Regions from separate parts of the Homo sapiens genome. Here region 2 is linked to region 1. The links are contacts of gene promoters, found by promoter capture Hi-C in human tissues and cell types (Jung and others, 2019). All regions are on one chromosome and are shown on one strand. The core of a region is centred on a gene start or on the middle of the fragment in contact, and the rest is flanking DNA. Distances in the headings are between cores, read along the strand shown. Region 1 holds the start of TAF3 (TATA-box binding protein associated factor 3). Region 2 overlaps TAF3 (TATA-box binding protein associated factor 3).

The links. The method cuts DNA at HindIII sites, captures the fragments that hold promoters and counts their contacts. A contact is called where the count stands out against the background at its distance.
Region 2: a fragment that was not itself captured here is called in contact with the fragment with the promoter of TAF3 in region 1 in 1 of the 25 tissues and cell types used here (mesenchymal stem cells).

Annotation. Positions count from the first base shown.
Region 1 is chr10:7,815,079-7,823,039 of GRCh38, forward strand. It overlaps TAF3 (TATA-box binding protein associated factor 3), which reads left to right and starts at 3,427. Exons shown (of 7, transcript NM_031923.4): 1 at 3,427-3,797. The coding sequence starts at 3,632. LOC105376392 (a long non-coding RNA gene) reads right to left here and starts at 3,285. Exons shown (of 3, transcript XR_001747356.1): 1 at 3,174-3,285. RefSeq lists enhancers at 3,103-3,621, 3,434-3,493, 3,622-4,139. The HindIII fragment of the contact is 13,699 bases long and covers 1-7,961 here.
Region 2 is chr10:7,958,134-7,966,094 of GRCh38, forward strand. TAF3 (TATA-box binding protein associated factor 3) reads left to right here. Exons shown (of 7, transcript NM_031923.4): 3 at 5,787-7,609. Among named protein-coding and RNA genes, the nearest start is that of GATA3-AS1, 91 kb to the right of the region's middle. RefSeq lists a silencer at 3,857-4,021. The HindIII fragment of the contact is 3,290 bases long and covers 2,066-5,355 here.

The sequences.
Region 1 (7,961 bases), core at 2,177-4,676:
ACGAGGGTAAACATTCATTGTGATAAGAAATAGATATATACTCTGGGTATGGATTTGCCTTTCCTGCTCATCTTGTTTGAGCCACTGGGTTCCCATATCACGCTATGTCAGCCTAAGGGGCCCATTTTACAATAAAGGAAACGTGGGAGTGGGCACAAGGCTATGAAACCCACGGGTCATATCATACACCACACCACTCAGAAGCTGTCAGCCTGGCAGAGCAATGGAATAGACTTTTTTAGGCACAATGAAAGCACCAGCACACAGGCAATACCTTCTGAGGATGGGCCTGATCCCCTAGGCTGCTGTGCACTCTTTAAGCCAACAACCTTTTTTCTTTTTGTAGAGACAGGGTCTCACTGTTGCCCAGGCTGGAGTGCAGTGACTCGATCATAGCTCGCCGTAGCCTCAAACTCCTGGGCTCAAGTTATCTTCTGGCCTCTGCCTCCTGAGTAGCTGGGGCTAATTTCTTTATATATATATATATATATATATATATATATATATATTTTTTTTTTTTTTTTTTTTTTTTTTTTTTGTAGAGATGGGGGTTTCACTATGCTGCTAGGGCTTGTCTTGAACTCCTGGCCTCAAGCCATCTACCTGCCTTGGCCTCTCAAAGTATTGAGATTAAAGGCATGAGCCACTGTGCCCCACCAAGTCAATGACTTCTGTGATGCTGGGTTCCCAATAAGTAGATGACACAGGGTGGAGACTGGGGTTTCTCCACTTACATCACTCCCAGGGACCCACCTGGGAAATTGTTCTTCCTGTCCTGCCACTCTGGGTTCTCCAGGTTTACAGATCCCATTTCCAAAAGGGGGAATGCTTTCACCAGAGGACCTAGCAGGAGTCCCACTGAAACATTAGCTACAGTTGCTGCCTGGGCACTTCCACTGAGACTGCAGCTAAGAGAGGAGTCATCTTTAGGAGGGGGATGGGCTCCTATTACAGAGTGGGAGGCAAGGTGGAGTGTTTGGTTTCCACATGGTCTGTTTGGGTGCCTCTTGCCCAATTTTGGGTATTCTCTTCCCCAGTTCTGATGGTACAAGGACGAGTTCAGCAGCCACAGTCTGAAAAGGGCCTGGAAACCAGGGGCTCAGACCTGCACATGAGGGTCTGCATCATGCCACCAAATAAGCTACTGAGACCAGAAGTGAGAGAAATGTAGGCCTGAGGAGGAGAATACTGAGTATCAGCTGAGGCCTGGCTGCAGCAGTCGGGGCTCTAATTTGTCTCCTGACCTTCCTCTTTAATGTTTTCCCCAGGGAAAGGGCCCCCTCCAGAATCCTGGAGGAGCTGTTCCTCAAACCAAGAAGTGTCTCTGAGGGTAAAATAGATGAACTGTGATGAATGCTCTAATCCACTGCTCAGAGCCCCCTCAGGACTGAAGGACTTCAGCTGTCCTTGGAATTGAATGGACTCAGCTGCAGTGTTCCTTTGCCTGAGAGCACACACCCTTTCCCAGGTAGCCCTCATGCAGTGACCTGTTCCTATGGGAATATAAAGGTCCAGTCTTCTTGTTTGGATTCAGGGAAGCTCTGAAGGGCCACTCCAGCTTCTGCACACTATGGCATTGGCTTGGCTGAGGCTTTCTTGCCAAGGAATTCACTGCACCCTGGCTTTCACTCCTTCCCCCAAGTCCCAGGAGGATCCCTCAATGAACTTTCTGCAGGCTCATCTCTATTTCAGAGTTGACTTCCTGGGGAACCAAGCCTGTGACATATGGTCTTGTGTATAGTTATGTGGGGGAATGTTCTTGTTTTGGGGTGATACATGTCGAGGTGTGGTGGGGTTAAGTGTCATGAAGTTTGCAGCTTATTTTCAAACTGCTGGAAAAAAAATACCTGCGTGCATATATAAATACAAAATATATAGTAAATTGGCAAAATGTTAACAATTGGTGAATCTAGTTGAAGTGTACACGTGAGTCTATGATTTTGTTTCAACTTTTCTGTAGGTTTGAAATTTTCCGAAATAAAATCCCCTCCCCTATACACAGAAAGGCAAATGAAGAGGAACAAACACCCAGGGTGGCGGCGGTAGCGGGACAGATTTGTGAAATCCAAGGCGCAAGAGAGTTTCAATGTTACAGAAGCGTTCAACATTATCAAATAGCTACAAAATAATCAAGTACGGCTAGGACTGAAAAATGTCTCATAGATTTAGCAACACAATGTTCCTGATAACTTGGGGACAGAGTGTCCAGGGAGTAAATGCAGGCACCTTGCCCTTTAGTACCTTGCTTCTCTGCAGATCGTCATTTAGCTGAAGAACCATAATTTCAGTTCTATTATTGAGTTTCCCAGACTTTGAAAAATGTGAATATCATGTTCAAAGTTCTGGAATAGTCCCTGTCGGAGGAATATAGAGCCACTCATAAACTCGCAATTTATTGGAGGAGCACATAAACTAAATACACTGTGATAAGTACAGAAGGGCATATTTAAGAAACCGCATAGTTCAGCCACTACAATCGGGCGACCTGCAGGCTGAATCTAGACTAACCGTGGGATCAGTTTGGCTTTTGAGATGTGTTCCCAATTCTGTATTTAAAAATCAAGATATTTATCCCTAAATCCGATTTCTGGCAATACTTGGATGGAGCTGGGAGAAGGCTCTGGGGTAGGCAACCGTTCCCAGGACACTCGGCCTGCGACACCGGTTTAAGGCTCGGTTTGGCCTCTGTAGGCAGCCGAGGTCCCCATCCCCCGATAGGTCACAGCCGCGATGCTCAAATCGCACACTATAGCCCACAGGCAGCTTACCTGTTTTTTTTAAAAAAAAAAAAAAAAAAAAAGTTTTATTGGAACCAGGGCTGGGATTAGAATGACATGAGTGAGTCAGGAGTTTATGGCATGGATTTGGATTTTTTTAAAAAAACTGTTAAAATATTATCGATCTTGATGACTGAGTTTTTTGAGGCCCCCATTAATTTGGCACAGAGTCCTCCTAGTTCCTGCCCTATTGCGAAGGGCTTTGAAGGGCATGCGGAACAGCTTGGACTTTATTTAATCTTTGCAGTGGCAAGCAGCTCAATACACAGATTTTTAGCTGAGGCAACACCAGCGCAGGTCTGCGTTTGGCGAGCTCCGTAAGTTCCCACGCCCCAAACTTCTCTCTAGCACATAACTCTCTAATATGACTAACGTTATTAGTGCTAACTCTCTAACCTGTCAATGTCGTATCCCAGATCCCTCGTTTGCCTCTAAAACACTGGCGTTTTCGTCACCGCTGTCCCCCAGGTGAGCGCCCCAGCACCTGCCGCCCTGGGCGCCTCCTCCACCTGCGCGCCCCACGCCCGCTTCCGGCCGGCTTCCAGGCCTCAGAGGCGATCCCGAGGAATCGTTCCGCTCCCAAGGGGCGGAGCTTTCTCATCGCCGCGCTCGGCATTCGGCTTATGCTGCCTCGCCCCGGCGGCCGTCCAGCGGGAGGCGGAGCGAGTCCAAAATGGCGGCTCTCAGGCTGGCGCGCTCCGTGCTGCTGGGGCTTTGAGGTGGTCGCCGGGGGTCCGGGGGACCCTTTCCCCGCCGCGGAAGCCCTAGAGGATGAATCGGGGACCCTGCTAAGGTCTGGCGGCGGGGCTGGAGAGCAGTGGCAGCAAGGGCTGCGGTGGCGTCCACGCAGCGGGATGTGCGAGAGTTACTCCAGGTCGTTGTTGAGGGTCTCGGTGGCGCAGATCTGCCAGGCGCTGGGCTGGGACTCGGTGCAGCTCAGCGCCTGCCACCTCCTCACGGACGTGCTGCAGCGCTATCTGCAGCAGCTGGGCCGGGGCTGCCATCGGTACTCTGAGCTCTGTGAGTACCGGGCTGGGTGCGGGAGGGCTGCCCCGGCAAGTCAAGGGTGACACCTTCGCTCTCCCTGTCCCTCCGCGTCCCCGGGGTGTGCATCCCGCACCCCGCCTCGAGATCTGCTGTTTCCTCGGCCTCCCACGTCCCTGGGCTTCCACTGCCGCTCCAAACTCTAGTCATCCTTCGGGTGCCTCTTCCTTATCCGCTAACTTCCCGCCACCAGCCCGGGAGTCGGGTCTTCGCTCCCAGCTCCACACCCTCCTACCGCTCCTCCGCTCTGAATTGTGTCTGGATCTCTCTCATTGTCTCCTGTTTGCTGCGGGTAGATCCACCCCCAGCGTGCCCTACACCCTCTTTTACCTCGGTCCTTTTTCTCCCTTGCCCGCAAACTACTACAACTAGTTGTCACAGGCGCTCCGTCTACCGGCCGTTTCTTACAAGACTGGCCATTCCTGGGCTCCTAACTACATAGACTCGTTGACAGCTCTGCTCCGTTAGGGACACTGCCTCGTCTTTCTGTATCTGTTCGTTTCGTGAACGACATCTCCATTTACTGTTTTTCCAAGGCTGACTTTGTCAGTTTCGCTGATTAGATGTACTTTCACTTACGTCTCGGTTACCAGTGAGATGTCAGTGGCTATCGAAGTAGGATAGAGGGACCGTGGGCAGTTGACAAGATTCTCCAGGTAATCTGGGCTACAGTACTTATGAGTTTTAAATGAATGTCTGGTAATATCTATAGCTAGTGGTATTTAATAATTTAATGGAAGGAATGGAATATTTTAATAGAAGCTCCACATTATCTTGTTGATGTGAAGCATTGTATGTGTGTTTGTTGAGGAGAGGAAACTACCACTCATTTTAGTTTCAAGTCATGATGTTTAAGGTGGTGAGCTGGAGAACTGAATGAAGTGTTTCATAGGATATTTTGTTTTGTTAAAGTGGTTCCTATACTGGAAAATTGAGACTCACAGACACACGCTGTATTTCTTAGGCCCCAAGTTTCGTTCCCGCTTCCACAGGGCTGCCAAAATAATCTGTCCATAGCACAGATCTGATCCTGTCATTATTCTTAAAAACATTTTAACTATACTTCGTTGGTTACAGGCTAAAAATCGAAACTCTTAGCAGTACACAGTTCCCTTTGTGAGCTAGCATTTTGCTTACCTTTTGCCAGCCTGCCATGCTAATCTGCGACCACGCTGAGCTACCTGCCTTTTCCAAAATGTTTTAAGCTGTCCATTCCTACATGCGTGCTGTTTCTTACCTAGAGTGTCCTTTGCCCGTGGCCCACCAATAGTATTACTTTTATTTTCAGATGCACTTATCACTTGCTCTAGGGAACTCATGTTATCTGCTTTCATAATTCTGTGCATATTTCTTTTATATTATTTGTCATCTTGTTTTGTAATCACCTGTGTATGTCTCTTTCCCCTCTCCAGGAGAAAAATTGATTATATTTGTATTCTGTAACCTGTAGGGCCATTATATAATAGGCACCTGAGAAATATTTGTTGAATAAATGAATGAACTGATAAACCACTACCCTAAAAGCCACTTATTGACTTTACATATTGAGTTCCAAAAATGTATATGTTTTGAATGCTTGATTTCACTGATACTTCTATTACTCTTCTTCTTTTGAGACAGGGTCTCACTCTGTCGCCGAGCGTGGAGTGCAGTGGTGCGATCTTAGCTCTCTATAGCCTCGAACTTCAGGGCTCAAGTGATCCTCCCGCCTCAGCCTTCCAAGTAGCTGGGACTACAGGGATACGCCACCATGCCTGGCTAATCTTTTTATTTTTTGTAGAGATGTGGTCTGGTTATATTGCTCAGGCTTGTGTCAAACTCCTGGGCTCAAGTGATCCTCCTGCCTCAGCATTTCAAAGTGCTGGGATTACAGGCATGAGCCACCATGCCCAGCTCACTGATACATCTGAATGTGGAACCACAAAGTAATATGCGTGCATTTTTATCTTGAAAGTACATCACCAGCTGACTACTCTTCTGGCTTTTGTTTCTTTTTCCTCTGGCCTCCGCTGCAGTGGTCCTTGAGTATACCGTTAGTGATAGGCTAGGCTAGGCTAGGCTAGGCATAGTCCAGATTATGTTTGCTACCATGTATCTTTAGATATTCAAAATGTCTCCTGAATACATAGTTACCTTTACTGCCATTTATACAAAACAGAAGGGAGCTGCCACTCTATGTGACTAGGTATTCCAAAGTCATCCAGGGGTCACTGCAGCTCTTCAGTGTAAACCTTGTTCCTAATTACCAAGTTTCCGTAGCCAGTTTCTTGGTTTCAGTGAGAATGAGATTGTCAGGTTCATTATTCCCACGTAATTTGGTGACTTTTTTTTAATGCTAATTTTGGTATACTTATTAGATATTTTTAGATTCTTTTTTCTATACCAGCCTTATTCTAAAATCAAATTCTGTAGCTCCAGGTTACCACTATGGAATCTTGTATTCCACCCCTTTAAATCCTTTCTGTTGTTTTAACAAACACTTACTGAGCATCACTTACGAACCAACCCCTGTACTAGGCATTGGAGACATAAAATTACTAAGATACAATCCCTGACCATAAGGTGTGTTCAAGAGTTCCAGAATGTCAGGAAACAACAAACTGATGGTGTTTGTTTCTTCTAAAAGAAATGTTCTCAAGTTAAAGCAAGTATTAGAAGTTACCATTAATTCAAATAATGAACAAATAATGAACTTAAGAATTGCCTTAGGGTAACAATGTCTCCAAGCATTCAAGGGCAGATGTCTCTGTCGGTGTCACATTATATGTTAAATATGTTGGCATGTACTGAAAGCAGGTGCTAAATCTTTCAGACTGACTCTTCAACACTAGTACTGTAATATTTTTTTGCATGGTACAGGGAGTAAATGTAAAAGGGATAAGAGGAGAGATGGCTGTAGGCTATAGATTCTGGGGTAGGATTACTTCACAGAAAAGATAAGATTTGAGTTGAGCTGTGAAGTATGGTTGTATAAAGGTATAGAGTATTCCAGCTTAGAGAATCACATAAACTAAGCTGTCCAGGTGAGATTAAGCATAATAAAAGTACCAGTAAGGTGTTCAGCTCCCTATGCAGCTAGTTCATTCCAAGGGTGTCTGAGTAAAATGTTCAACAGAGTGAGATCAGGTTATGGAAGGACTTGAAAGCTAGACAAAAGAATTAAAACATGTAGTAGAAAACATTGCATACTCCTAAGTAGGGGAATAGTATGATTAAAGTGGTATTTTAAGAAAATTGTACTGACAGTGATGTGCATAAGAGATTGAAGTGGGCAGAACTTGAGACTATACTGAGATAGTGACAGTAAGAATAGAGAGAAAGGAAAAAAATCTGAAATCATGGTTAAAAAAAAAAAAAAAAGGTGGCCGAAGGGGACGGGGACAGGGTTAGAAACTACCAGGTTTTGGTTTGAGGCTGCAAAGCATATGGAGGAATTTAAGATTATTATATTTTTTAGACTGAGAGAGTAATAATAGCTTTAATAGGAATAGAAGAGATGAAATGCCTGTTTACATTCAGTAAGAAGAAGAGTATTCGTTTTATTTATTTTCTTTTTTTAATGCATCACAGAAGTAACCCATACTTATAGAAAAAAAAAATCAAAGACTGCAGAAGTATGTGGAGTTAGAAGTCAGTCTCCTGCTTCCACCACAGCCCTCGCCTCTACTGCAGCTTCCACCCCTCGAACTGTTAACCATTGGCTGAATATCCTTCCAGAGGTTTCTGTATGCATTACTACACATGCGTCCAATTCTAGCAATATTTGGATTCTTTTTCATTTTACAGTGTGATTTAATTTCAGACATACTGAGTTTGAAGTGATCAAATTTCAGGATTTCAGTTAAAAAGTCAGGATTTCAGTTAAATCCTTTAGGCTATTGAAAATCAGAAAATGGAATTTTCATAGACATTTTTAAAGATGTAGAGACCTTAAGCTCTGCTAAGAATAGGCATAAGAAAAACTTGCTTTTGTAAAGAAAAAAATCTCTATATCTAACTTTTTATCTCTGTTTTATGTGGTGTTTTCTAATTACATTTGAAAATTTATAGATAAATTATCTTTATGGCTAGGCATGTTGGTGGTGCACTGGTAGTCCCAGCTACTCAGAAGGTGAAGGTAGGAGGATGGCTTGAGCCTGG
Region 2 (7,961 bases), core at 2,461-4,960, 140 kb after region 1:
CCTTTACCAGTGGTAGAGGCTAAACAGTTCAATAGCCATTACACATGTATCTTATTCCAAACACTTAAAACATAGAATTAAAATTATTCATGTAGTAAAAAGCCAGATACTCATTATGTGTAACCATCAACCAAGTCTGCATTTGAGCAGGCAGAAGCTAGATCAACTGTATTTATTTGTTTTAATTTTAAAAATTCTAATATTTTTAAAATAAAATATATTCACTCAAGTCGAAAACTTTTTTACCAGGAGAATGGATTAGCTACCATTGGACATTTCTGCAGCAGTGAAAATAAGTGAACTACAGCTGCCTGCATCAATCTGGGTGAATCTCAGAAACATAATGTTGGGTAAAAATTAAAAAAAAAAATTATAGTATCATACTATTTATGTAAAGTTCAAAAACAAGCAAACTACCTACAAATATGGTAAAACTACAAAGGAAACAGATTGAAGATCAAGATAGTAGTTCCCTGGGGGCTGGGGTAGGAGTGGAGAAAGCAGGGGTGGATGGGAAAGGAGCCACAGGATTGGGAGGGCCCTGCTCATGCTCTTCTGAAGCAGGCGATGGCCTCGCAGGTGTTCACTGATTATTATGCTTCATAACTTCCACGCGCGTTACTTATTCCTGCTGGTAGGTATCAGATCATTTCTAATTTTAAAAATTGTTTAAGTATCTTCACACTTTTTCCTTTTCTTATTAAAAGTTTTAGGCTTTTGGCCGGGCACGGTGGCTCACGCCTGTAATCCCAGCACTTTGGGAGGCTGAGGTGGGCGGATCACAAGGTCAGGACATCGAGACCATCCTGGCTAACATGGTAAAACCCCGTCTCTACTAAAAATACACACACACAAAATTAGCCGGGCGTGGTGACGGGCGCCTGTAGTCTCAGCTACTTGGGAGGCTGAGGCAGGAGAATGCCGTGAACCCAGGAGGCGGAGCTTGCAGTGAGCTGAGACCGTGCCATTGCACCCTAGCCTGGGTGACAGAACGAGATTCTGTCTCACACACACACACACACACACACACAAAAAAAGTTTCAGGCTTTTTTTTCTGACGAAGTCCTTTGTTCATTTTAATTGATTTTGATGCTGCAATTGAAGCTTTCTTATAAAATCTTAAGTAAATAAGAAAGTGTAAATTAAACAAATAAAAATAAGAAACCTTTGTTTGTTCTAAAAAAAATCTATTTTAAAACGTTTGTATTTTTAAGTATTCCTAAAACCAACACTTGAAGTGATTTAGTTTTATAATTCATTTCTATTCCTTTAAATAACATAAAGGAATGAATACAAGTTTTTGCAGTATTAAGTAACATAAAGGAATGAATATAAATTTTTGCAGTAGGAACTTGAAAAACAAAAGTGAAAATAAACAATAAAAACAAAATAACAAAAACAGAATAAACCTAGCTTGTGGAGTCTTACTTTAAATCAAGCTTAATGTTAAGTTTTTTTTACTGAAACACAAACAACCATCATTAATTTTTGATACCGTTATGAGTTATTTGAGCTCTAAATTCAAAGTAAACCAATATATTTTCTAAAGTAGTTGTATGAAACCATCCCAGTTTTCCTAGCCAAGCCTCACATTCTTCCTTCATTCAAAGGCCTATCTTGTAGCCATTTTGCCAGTTCTAATCTGATAGAATTGCACATTAGTAAAATAATATATCTTACTATACAGAAAAATCCAAATTTTCAAGTTATTGTAACTATAAAGCAGACCTTACATCCATAAGACTTGAAACTGTCTTACTAGTAGTCCTGGGTATCCCCTGTAGTCCCTTTCTAGGGAATGCTTGGAGTAGAGCAGTTTCCCTCTGGTCTCCCAGTATCCATAAGGCCTTCCCTGGAGAACACACACTGTTAGAGCTGAGCTATATCCAGATTAGTCCCCAGAGTTAGAAGAGCAGGATGCACCATAACATACTCTAAAGACCCGTTATCCTGCCTAAGCCAAACCTTTATCATTCTGTTTTGGCATCATTGGGATTTATGAACCTCTGTGGAGTAGGAGGAGGTTCTTTGAAATTTAGAAATGTAATATTAATAAGTGAATGTTCATTCACTTTCAGAATACCCTAAAGCTGTCTTCTTTCTGATTTTCTCATGTTTATCTGTTGGCAGTTGAGCAGATCTGAAGTCCGCCTTGTCATTCTGATAGCAAAAGCGAGGGAGGGAGGGAAAAGTTTAGATGAGCTGAATGTGGTAGGTCTAGGACAGGGGTCAGCAAACGTTTTTTTGTAAAGAGCTGGATAGTAAATATTCTAGGCTTTCTTTGTTGCATGTATAACTGGAACACAGTAGACCCCAAAGGGAGTACGTGGTTATTTCTAGTTGCTAAGAGAAGGCATTACAGAATAGGTAATACTTGAGAGCCTTAGAAGTCGCCAACATGTTAGGAAGGAAAAGACATTTCAGGCACGGGGAATCGCATGTGCAGAGGTACAGGAGTGTGACCACATATTTGGGGATTGCAGATAAGTTAGCATGGCTGGAATGGGTAGAGCACGCAGGGGCTCACTGTGAATGATGAGGTTACTTCCCTAGCTTAGAGGGAGCACCTTGTCAGTCATACTGGAGAAATTGGATTTTTATATTTTATTTTTTCCTCCAATTTCCCAGATGGAGAGGATTTTTGTATTTTAGAATAGTGATTTTCAAACATGTTTTAGCCTCACAACAAAAGCTTTTGTGGAAGCTCTGCATGTAAAATAGATAACCCCAGGCATAACTCTTCCGTGTAATAAAGAACAGCCGTTTCTACTGTGCAGTAGCCTCAGAAGGGGTTCTACAAACCCTCAATTTCCAAGGGATGCCTTTTACAAACTGCTTCTGAAGGAAGCAATGAAAGGTTTTTAAGATGAGGAACCACAAGCTCAGATTTGCGTGTTCGGAAGATCACCGTAAGACGACGTGAGAGATGGTTCTGAGAAAGCTGCACTGGAGGCCGAGACTAGGTAGAAGGTCCTTGCAGCCATACAGAGAAGAGGTGCTGAATATTGATATTAACAAGACAGAAGCAGGGGGAAAGCACATGAAAGCAAACAGAGTTGAAAACTTGTGCTGTCAATTCAGATCTGGCGGAGAAGATGGGAGAGAATCTAGAATGACCCCAGGTTCCTGACTTGGGACCTGGTGGGTGATGCCATCATTATCGCGAATCGGTAGCATAATTGATGAGGTTGTGATGTTCTTTATGATTTACTAAGTACTTCCCCATGCATCATCTCACGCGTTCTCCATCTGTGCATCCTTCATGCTTTTGCAGCATGGCTTCTGCTGTTGGCCTCATCCTCGTTGACCTCTTAAGCATTTGGCTTTGTTCACCTGCCTTCTGCATAAAACTCTTGCTCCCTTGATCTCTTTGACATCTGACCCTCCATGTATTTCTTTAGTTCTTCTTCCTTTTCTTTTTATATATAGGTATTCCTCAAAATACCTGAACCTGTTTCCTCTTGTTTCTTCCTTGTTCATATCATCCATCATGGTGACTTTAGTTATCTCAACAACACTCTTTCTCTCATGCACTCTGTCCTGTTTTCTGATCATCTGTATTATATTTCAGCTGCCGAGTAGGCATTGCAGACTAAATGTTCATCAAACTCTGTGTCTAGGGATTGAGCTAATAATCATTGTCCTTTTCTATTTCCTTATTTCCTGTTTCTGTTCATCACTACATTTATCACTCACCAAGGCTCAAAGCTTTCTTTCCCTTTTTTTTTTCTTTAAAAATAGGGTCTCGCTCTGTCGCCCAGGCTGGAGTGCAGTGGCGCAATCATGGCTCATTGCAGCCTCAACCTTCTGGGCTCAGGTGACCCTTGCACCTCAGTCTCCCAGGTAGCTGGGACTACAGGCACGCACCACAACACCCAGCTAATTTTTGTATTTTTTAGTAAAGATGGGGTCTCACTATGTTGCCCAGGCTGGTTTCAAACTCCTGGGCTCAGGTAATCCTACTCCCTCGGCCTCCCAAGATGTTGGCATTACAGGCATGAGCCACCATGCCTGACCAGGCTCAAAGCTTTGAAATTGTGTTTGAGTCCTTGCTCAAGTCTTATACCCTAATCATTTATCAGATTCTATCCATTCTATCCTCAGAATATCCTTCACCTCTGCTGCTTCCTGATCATTTCCACTGTTCTAGCTCTGACCCTTACTGCCTCTCACATCACTTCAGTAATCCATGTTATTGCTCTCCTTCAGTACCCATCACCTCCCACCCTCATCCATCCTGCGTGTTCCTGCCAGTGTGACTTTTCCCAACACATACCCCACACGTTTTTCTCTGTTGTCTAAAATCCTTCTAGGTCCAAACTACCAGTAGAATAAAGATTATGTTTCTTTTTCTGGAATTCAAAAGTCCTAGGATCTGGATGCAATTTTACTAAACCTGCTTCCTACTGCTCCCCACCTTGCACTCTACTTTCCAGACAAATAATTTTCTGTTTCTCTTACACTCCCCGTGTTTCACCTTCATCTATTTGTCATCTGACCCTTTGTCCTGGACTTCACCACTTCCAGTCTCCAACTATCCCAAACGCTGCATAATTAATCAAGCCTCCTCCGCATGATTGACCTCGCTGAGATCTGTCTCTCCTTTGACCTGCTGTAGCACTTTATCTGTCTGTGGCACTGATCACTTTCTGTGGGCTAGACATATCTGTTATTGCTGCACTAAACTGTGAGCTCTTTTAGTTGTGATTTATTTCTGATTTATTTCAGTGGCTCTTTTAGACTTTATCATTGTACATTATATGCTTAGTTAAAATGTGTTGGGAGAAATAATCTGATCTTAGAAAAACTCAGCCAAGTAGGCAGGGCAAGTAACATCGGCTCCTTTTTGAAAGATTAGGAAACAGGCTCAGAGAGGTTGAGAGAGTCCCTAAGGCTGGTTGCTCTCTAGTGCCGTAACTCTAGCCGAAAAACCATTTGTCAAGTGCCTAAACCAAGTGTATTTCATTGCACCATACTCCCTCTCCAAGTGGCTCACATCAAGCAAGCAAAATAGAAGACATAAGTAGTATATGAATTTGTCATAAAAGTCCTAAAAATACCTGTCATTCCTGATAATAATAATAATCCATACTAAGTCCTATAATAATCCATCTCTTGATTTTTTAGAGGGTGTGTGGGTGCGCACGTGTGCTTCTATGTGCATGAGAGAGAGATAGAGAAAGATGGCATTTACTGGTTAGGAAAATAATTAATTCAGGAAACAACAGAAGGCCAACTGGAAATACCGAGCAATTTCCAGATCCTGAGGTTAGGGCCAGACCATGTGAAAGGACAATGATCAATTTGTACATCTGCTGTTACTGACTGCCACTCTTTTAAGAATGATGGCACACATGTTTGGAAGATCCTTGAAAACTAACTTACTTTTTAAACACTGTCAATAATTTCCTTTTTTTTTTAGAAATCATGTTTGAACGCCGCATGTTCTCACTCATAAGTGGGAGTTGAACAGTGAGAACACATGGACACAGAGGGAGGGGAACATCACACATCGGCACCTGTTGGGAGGTCGGGGGCTGGGGGAGGGATAGCGTTAGGAGAAATACCTAATGTAAATGATGAGTTGATGGGTGCAGCAAATTAACAGGGCACATGTATACCTGTGTAACAAACCTGCATGTTGTGCCCATGTACCCTAGAACTTAAAGTATAATAATAAAAAAGAAAGAAAAAAGAAATCATATTTGAAGCATTGTTTTTATTTCTTAGGTTTTGTTACATTCCAATAATATTTATTTTTTTCTTCCTTTTTCTTCCTTTACCAGAAGAAGAAGAAGAGCAGGTGCCCACTGATGGAGGCACATCAGCAGAAGCCATGCAGGTTCCCTTGGAAGAAGATGATGAATTGGAGGAGGAAGAAATTATTAATGATGAGAATTTCCTGGGCAAGAGACCACTGGATAGTCCTGAAGCTGAAGAACTGCCAGCCATGAAGCGGCCTCGGCTATTAAGCACTAAAGGGGACACGCTAGATGTTGTGTTATTGGAAGCTCGAGAGCCACTCAGCTCAATAAATACTCAAAAGATCCCACCAATGCTTTCTCCAGTCCATGTACAGGACAGTACAGACTTGGCACCTCCCTCACCCGAGCCGCCAATGTTGGCTCCAGTTGCAAAATCACAAATGCCAACTGCAAAACCATTAGAAACAAAGTCATTTACACCTAAAACAAAGACTAAAACTAGCTCTCCAGGACAGAAGACTAAATCACCTAAAACCGCCCAGTCACCAGCAATGGTCGGAAGTCCTATTCGATCACCAAAAACTGTATCCAAAGAAAAGAAATCACCTGGACGTTCCAAGAGCCCCAAGAGTCCCAAGAGCCCCAAGGTCACGACTCACATTCCCCAAACACCTGTGAGACCTGAAACGCCCAACAGGACTCCTTCAGCTACACTCAGTGAAAAAATCAGTAAAGAGACTATCCAGGTAAAACAAATACAGACACCCCCTGATGCTGGGAAACTGAACAGTGAGAATCAGCCGAAAAAGGCTGTGGTAGCAGATAAAACGATTGAGGCCTCTATCGATGCTGTGATTGCACGAGCCTGTGCTGAGCGAGAGCCAGATCCTTTCGAATTTTCTTCTGGATCGGAATCTGAAGGAGACATTTTTACTAGCCCTAAGAGAATTTCAGGCCCGGAGTGTACTACTCCCAAAGCTTCCACTTCCGCGAACAATTTCACAAAGTCAGGATCCACTCCTCTGCCTCTTTCCGGTGGAACCTCAAGTTCCGATAACTCATGGACAATGGATGCCTCCATTGATGAGGTTGTACGTAAAGCAAAACTGGGAACACCTTCAAATATGCCCCCCAACTTTCCTTATATCTCTTCTCCGTCAGTGTCTCCTCCCACTCCCGAACCTCTCCACAAGGTGTATGAGGAGAAAACCAAGCTGCCTTCCTCCGTGGAGGTAAAGAAGAAGTTGAAAAAGGAACTAAAGACTAAAATGAAAAAGAAAGAAAAGCAGAGAGATAGGGAGAGGGAAAAAGACAAGAACAAGGACAAAAGTAAGGAGAAGGATAAAGTGAAAGAGAAAGAGAAAGACAAGGAAACTGGCAGGGAAACAAAGTATCCCTGGAAGGAATTTCTTAAAGAGGAAGAGGCAGATCCCTACAAGTTTAAAATCAAAGAATTTGAAGATGTTGATCCCAAAGTGAAATTGAAAGATGGACTTGTGAGGAAGGAGAAAGAGAAGCATAAAGATAAGAAGAAAGATAGAGAGAAAGGCAAGAAAGATAAAGATAAGAGAGAGAAAGAAAAAGTGAAAGATAAAGGCAGAGAAGATAAGATGAAAGCCCCAGCACCCCCACTGGTGTTGCCCCCAAAAGAGTTGGCCCTGCCCTTGTTCAGCCCTGCCACAGCCTCCAGGGTCCCAGCCATGCTGCCATCTTTGTTGCCAGTGCTTCCGGAAAAACTGTTTGAGGAGAAAGAGAAGGTGAAGGAGAAAGAAAAGAAAAAGGACAAAAAGGAGAAGAAGAAAAAGAAGGAAAAAGAGAAGGAGAAGAAGGAGAAGGAAAGAGAGAAAGAGAAGAGAGAGCGAGAGAAGAGAGAAAAAGAGAAGGAGAAACACAAGCATGAAAAAGTAAGCAGTTTCTCATTTTTGGCCCTATCTGAACAGAGTCCTAGTGAGAAACACAGGTAAACAAAGCCCACAATTATATCTGTATTCTGGGTGTAAATCACCCATCACTTAAGTGGAAATATGTTTATAATGAGGTTACAAAATTTGATTTTAATTCTAAAACCCATAAACCTGTAATCAAGCCCTCAACACACTAGCAGATGTTAAAAATTCATAGCCTAAGAGGCATCTAATCACAGACTATAAACTCTCTATTAGCTATAGTGATCTCTGGCAGCTTAAAAAAAACAAATCTGGGTTCTTAAATTGTGAATAATATTTATGTGAATTATCAAGTGTACTGCATTATATT